Linked DNA regions of Homo sapiens: region 2 is linked to region 1. Evidence: promoter capture Hi-C in 16 types of primary human blood cells and fetal thymus (Javierre and others, 2016). All regions are on one chromosome and are shown on one strand. Each heading gives the region's core, a stretch centred on a gene start or on the middle of the fragment in contact. The rest is flanking DNA. Distances are from core to core; before and after follow the strand shown.

Evidence for each region. The method cuts DNA at HindIII sites, captures the fragments that hold promoters and counts their contacts. A CHiCAGO score of 5 or more calls a contact.
Region 2: a contact is called between the fragment with the promoter of CPAMD8 here and the fragment with the promoter of LINC00661 in region 1, in 5 of 17 cell types (total B cells, naive B cells, total CD4 T cells and 2 more). The highest score is 10.0, in total B cells.

Annotation. Positions count from the first base shown.
Region 1 is chr19:16,014,336-16,017,259 of GRCh38, forward strand. LINC00661 (long intergenic non-protein coding RNA 661) reads left to right here and starts at 1,299. Exons shown (of 9, transcript NR_026828.1): 1 at 1,299-1,454. It overlaps LOC105372291 (a long non-coding RNA gene), which reads right to left and starts at 721. Exons shown (of 2, transcript XR_936355.1): 1 at 636-721; 2 at 1-50. The HindIII fragment of the contact is 12,039 bases long and covers 1-2,924 here.
Region 2 is chr19:17,025,394-17,028,147 of GRCh38, forward strand. CPAMD8 (C3 and PZP like alpha-2-macroglobulin domain containing 8) reads right to left here and starts at 1,417. Exons shown (of 42, transcript NM_015692.5): 1 at 1,158-1,417. The coding sequence starts at 1,249. RefSeq lists an enhancer at 1,589-2,497. The HindIII fragment of the contact is 6,852 bases long and covers 1-2,754 here.

The DNA of each region.
Region 1 (2,924 bases), core at 49-2,548:
CCGAAGCAGAGAGAGAGAAGGCAGCATACGTCAGCGTTTTCTTCTATGCACTTACAAGAAAGATCAAAGACTGTAAGACTTTCACTATTCCTTCTACCGCTATCTACTACAAATTTCAAAGAGGAACCAGGAGTACGGGAGGAACATGAAAGTGACCATTGGAGCACAGCACCACAAGGAGGGGTTTAGGCCTCCGGATGACTGCGGCAGGCCTAGATAATATCCAGCCTTCCACAAGAAGCTGGTGGAGCAGTGTTCCCTGACTCCTCCAAGGAAAGGAGACTCCCTTTCGCAGTCTGCTAAGTAACGGGCGCCTTCCCAGACACTGGCGTTACCGCTTGACCAAGGAGCCCTCAAGCTGCCCTTATGCACGCGTTGACAGAGGGCTCACCTCTTGCCTTCTAGGTCACTTCTAACAATGTCCCTTCAGCACCTGACCCTCTACCCGCCAGTTATTCCTAGGTTATGTTAGTAACGCAACAAAGAGTAATATTAAAAGCTAATGATTAATAATGTTTATAATAATGATTGATAATTGTCCATGATCATCTCTATATCTAATTTGTATTATGACTATTCTTATTCTAACTATTTTCTTTATTATACTGAAACAGTTTGTGTCTTCAGTCTCTCACCTCGGCACCTGGGTAATCCTCCGCCCACAGTCAATAGGGGTCTGCAGCTGGGGCAAGGTCAGCGGGGATCTGATCAGTGAGACCTAGTCAGGTCTCACTGACTGACTAGGCCCTGGGGGTTGGGGCCTGGCCAGCAAGAGTCCAGTAGTTGGGGCGTGTTTGGCGAGGGTCTCATGGTTGGGGTCTGGCCAGCGGGGGTCCCACAGTTGGGGCCTGGTGAGCAGAGATCTGGCAGTTGCAGCCTCGTCCATGGGGGTCTGGCAGTTGGGGCCTGGTCAGCGGGGTCTTATAGTTGGGGCCTGTTTGGAGGGGGTCCAGCAGTTGGGGCCTGGTCAGAGGGGATACGGCAGCTGGGGGTTATTTGGCAGGGATGCAGCAGCTGGGACCTGGTAGGTGGGGTCTGGCGGTTGGGGCCTGGTCAGTGAGGATCAGATCAGTGCGGTCTAGGCAGTGAGGTCTGGACGCTGGGCCTTCATCTGCATGGGTCTCGCAGTTGGGACCTGGTCAGCAGGGGTCTACCAGTTGGGGCCTGGTTGGCGGAATCAGGCAGTTGGGACCTGGTTGTCGGGGGTCCAACAGTTGGGGCCTGGTCAAAGGGGATCCAGCAGTTGGAACCTGGTCAGCAGGGCTCTGGCAGTTGGGGCCTGGTCATTGGGGTCTGGCAGTTGGGGCCTGGTCAACAGGGGTCCAGGAGCTGAGGCCTGGTTGGTGGGCCGTCTAGCAGTTGAGGCCTGGTCATCTGGGCCCGGCATTTGGGGCCTGATCGGCGGGGATCAGAGCAGTGAGGCCTAGTCAGTGAGGTGTGGATGTGGGGGCCTGGTAAGCAGGGGCCCAGCAGTTGGGGTCTGGTCAGCAGGGGTCTCATAAGAAGAGGCCTGGTTGGCAAGGGTCTGGCAGTTGGGGCTCAGTCAGGAGGGGTCTAGGAGTTGGGGCCCAGTCAGTGGGGTCTGGCAGTTTGGGCTTGATCAGTGCAGTCCAGCAGTTGTTGGGGCCTGGTCAGTGGGGGTCCAGTAGCTGGGACATGGTCAGTGGAGTCCAGCGTCCGGGGCCTGGTTGGCAGGGGTCTGACAGTTGGCGCCTGGTTGGTGGGGATCCCATAGTTGGGGCCTGTCAGCAGGGATCCAGCATTTGGGGCCCAGTCAGTGGGGTTCAGCTTTTGGGGCCTGGTGAGTGGGGTTCAGCATTTGGGGCCTGGCCAGCAGGGGTCCAGCAGTTGTTAGGGCCTGGTCAGCGGGGGTCTGATTAGTGAGATCTATTTGGTGGGGTCCATCAGTTGGGACCTAGTCAGTGAGGGCCGTGAGGGCCTTGTCAGTTGCAGCCTTGTTATTGTGGCCTTTGTCAGTGGTGTCTGATGAGCCAGGGCCTGGTCTGTGGGGCCCAGTCAGCAGGACCTGGTCAGTCCACATCTGGTCAGTGGGACCTGGTCATTGTGGGGGTGGTCAGCTAGGACCTGTTCAGTGGGAGCTTAACCATTGGAAGCCTGGCCAGTGGGATCCTGGGTGATCTCAGGCCACGGGTTAGTCCTCGAAGCCTCCGTGATTGCCTCCATCCATGGGGTGGGGGGTGAGTCACAGCACCCCAGTGGGCTTCTGGGAGGAGGAGGTGAGAGGGTGCATTGCATTGAATCCAGCCCTGCCACACAGACCTGGCACTTTACACACTACGCGAGTCACCCCAAGGGGGAAGCCTGGCTTCTGCCCTCTGCCCTCTGCCCTCTGCCCTTTGCCCTATGTCCCTGCCCCATCTGCATCCCCAGGACCACCCAGCATGGAAAGAGCAGAGGCTGAGGAGCACCTATGGGTGCTCTGATGCTGGCCACAGGCCCGGGGGTGACAGTGACAGGGATCCAGGTGCACACCTGAGTGGAGCAGCCAGGCCCAGCTGGAGGAGAGACGTGTTCACCCACACACATGCATCCTCACATACACAGACAAATTGCACGCATACATGTTGACCATTAAGCGGGCAGAGGACGCTGACCCTGGGCCCTGCTGAGCCAGGTAGGGCCCCGTCATGACAGAGGCTGTGAACCCATGCTGTCACTGTGCCAAGTGCCGCCAGCCTACCTCCGTGTCATGGAGCAGTTGGAGACACAGAGGTGCTGTAAGTGGTTGTGCAGAAAGGACCCTTTTCTGGGTGAGAAGCACATCTCAGCACCGCTGCCTGATCAGACTCAGGAAAGCGTGACCTGCTCTCTTCCCCCCTGCTGACTTGGGGACAGTCACAACCAGGTGGGTGGCAGCTACCCGAGGAGGGTCATCCATGAGCACTCACCGGGTGCCCGTTCTA
Region 2 (2,754 bases), core at 167-2,666, 1.0 Mb after region 1:
AAGAGTAAAACTCCATCTCAAAACAAAAACAAAAACAAACCCCAAAAACAACAAACAACAAACAAAAACCTCTGTATAAGGCAGGGTCTCTCATTGGAGCCAAGGTCTGTCATGTGGGGCCGCGTCATTCCTTGCAGTGGAAGCTGACCTGCACATCGAAAGCTGTTTACCAGCATTCCTGGCCTGCACCCACTTAATGCCAACACCAAATGCCTCTCCCTATTTGTGACAACCAAAAATACCTCCAGACATTTCCCAGCGGCCTCAGGGAGACAAAAATCCCCCCCAGGGCTGAGAACCACTATTCTAAGGGATGCCAGCTTTGAAAGAAGCATTAGGATGAAAATTTGTAGGGTTCCGATTTCACGAAGCCTAGGAGAGGGAAGTCTGGATGCTCAGAGCGCAGTAGACTGTCTTGCTTTTAAAACTGTGACCAGCAAGGACCAACTACTCACTGCAAATAACGACACCCACCTAGTCTCACTGCTTACCAGTTTTCTGGAAACTCCTAAACAAGGGCTGCTTGAACAAGCCGCCTTCTAAACGCCCAGCTGGACTAAAAGGCTGGTCTTGTGCAGACCAGGGCAGCCCCCCTGAACCCGCAGCCCTGCAGAGCTCACCCGAACTTGCCAGGTTTAGAAATATTCTCTGTGAAGCCAACTTAGCAGTACTCCCCAGCAGTTAGTTAATTCACCTTCTCCCCGCTGTCAACCCACCAGAAGCCTGCAAGCAAACCTCTAGAAAAATGTAGAAGCAAAACAAACACTTCCTCCTCCCTCACCACGCCCACCCACGGGAAAGTGCCCCTTCGCACTCTCCTCCCACTTCTCAGCCAAGACGCTCCTCTTACCTTCATACCTTGGACAACTGGAAATCGCCACCCATGATGACAGCCCGGGTCACACGAAGGGGGCGAGGTGGGGCGGGGGGAGCTGACCTCAGCACCTTTAGCTTTTGGGAGTCCCTGTACCTCCACAGAGCCACTTCGGAAACTTTAGGGCGCCCCCTCCTCAAGACGATTCGGGAACAAGAGGCCAGGTCCAGCCCAGCGCGGAGGCTGTGTGGCCTTGGGCAGGTCGCTGCAACACTCTGAGCCAGTACCCGCGACCCCCACCCCAGAAGGCGACCGACCTCCTCTGTCGCCGGAGGATACTCACGGGGCCTGAGGCTGCGCGGCGCGCACGCCGTCCCGCGCCGACAGCAGCAGGAGCAGGAGCGGGAGCAACGGCCAGAGCAGGGCGCCGCTCATTTTTCGGCTCCTGGGGGGCGCCGCGCCTGGGGAGGGGGCCGGGCCAGGGCTGGGCCAGGGCCAGGGTCCGAGCGCGGCCGTCCTCGCGCCGCCGCCGGGGGCCCTTTGTTCGCAGCCCCCGCGCAGTGCGCCCGGCGCCATGCGCCCCGCTCCGCGCCCGGCCAAGCTGGGGCAGCCCCGGGCCAGCCCCCTCCCCGGACCCGCCTCGTCTCCGGGACCGCCCCGCTCGCCCCGCTCGCCCCGCTCCTGGGCGCACCCTCCCGGGACGCCTGCTCCGCCCATCTCCGGACCCCGACCCGCCCCGATCCCTTCCGGGGATCGTCCCCTCACTTACTCACCGGACCCACCCGGGCCCTGCCCGATTCCTTCCGAACCCGCCTCCTCACCCCCTACCCGGATTCGCCCCCGGATGCCCCCCTCCCCACCAGCCCCGCCTCGGACCCGACCCCCCACCGCCCCCACTCTCCCTCTCCTCTCCACCCAGCGTCCACTCGGAACCTGTCCCTTCCCTGGCCTCTCCCTCCCTCCCTCCCCAGCCAGCCCCTTATGGCCCCCTCCCCGGGCCCGCCCCTCACCAGGGGCCCCTGGGTCTGGACGCCGCCTGCAACCCCGATCCCACAGGCGCCGCCGTGCCCTAAGCCCTGGCCTGTATCTAGTGCCCAGTGCAGTGCGTACAGCCCAAGGAGCAGAGGACCCTTTGGGGAAACAGTCTAGCCAGGGGTCGAACCTCCCAGACTCACATCTGCCCCAGGTCCCTATCTGTGCTCTCTGCTCCCCTCTCCCCCACCCCCACTGTCCACAAATCCCTTGGGCCCGTCCCCTCTCTCGCTGGGCCTCAGAGTCCCCCTTTCCCCTTCATACAGCAGGGGTGGATGGGCACCCCCTTTCTCTCCAAGAGCAGGGTGTCCCCTCCTGCCCCTCCCCGTGTGGCCACCTCAGTGATGGTCCTGCTGTCCTAGGTCCCACTGGCAGGCGGCACATCCTATACCATGTCCAAGTCCTGGACCCCCTCCTTCCAGTGTGGAACCCCCTTCCCCCAGCTACCAACTGCCCTTCTTCTAAAATTCCAGTGCTGACCACACCCCCTCCTGCCCGGAATCCTCGGGGCTCCCTGTTTATTTTACATTTTATTTTTATGTTTTGAGACCAGAGTTTTGCTCTGTTGCCCAGGCAGGAATTTAGTGGTGCAGTCACAGCTCACTGCAGCTTCAGACTCCTGGAGAGTAGCTGGGACTACAGGTGCAAGCCCGCACCCAGCTAATTTTTATATATTTTTTTTTAGAAACGGAGTCGCACTGTGTTGCCCAGGCTGGTCTTGAGCACTGGGCTCAAATGATCCTCCCTCCTCAGCCTCCCAAAGTGCTGGGATTACAGGTGTGAGCCACCACATCCAGCCAGGGCTTCCCGTTTATTGAGACCAAATCTAAACTCTGGCTTTGATGGCAGAGACCTCAGCCTAGTTCCTCCAACACCCTGTTCTTACTCCACTGCCTGCTTCTGCCTAA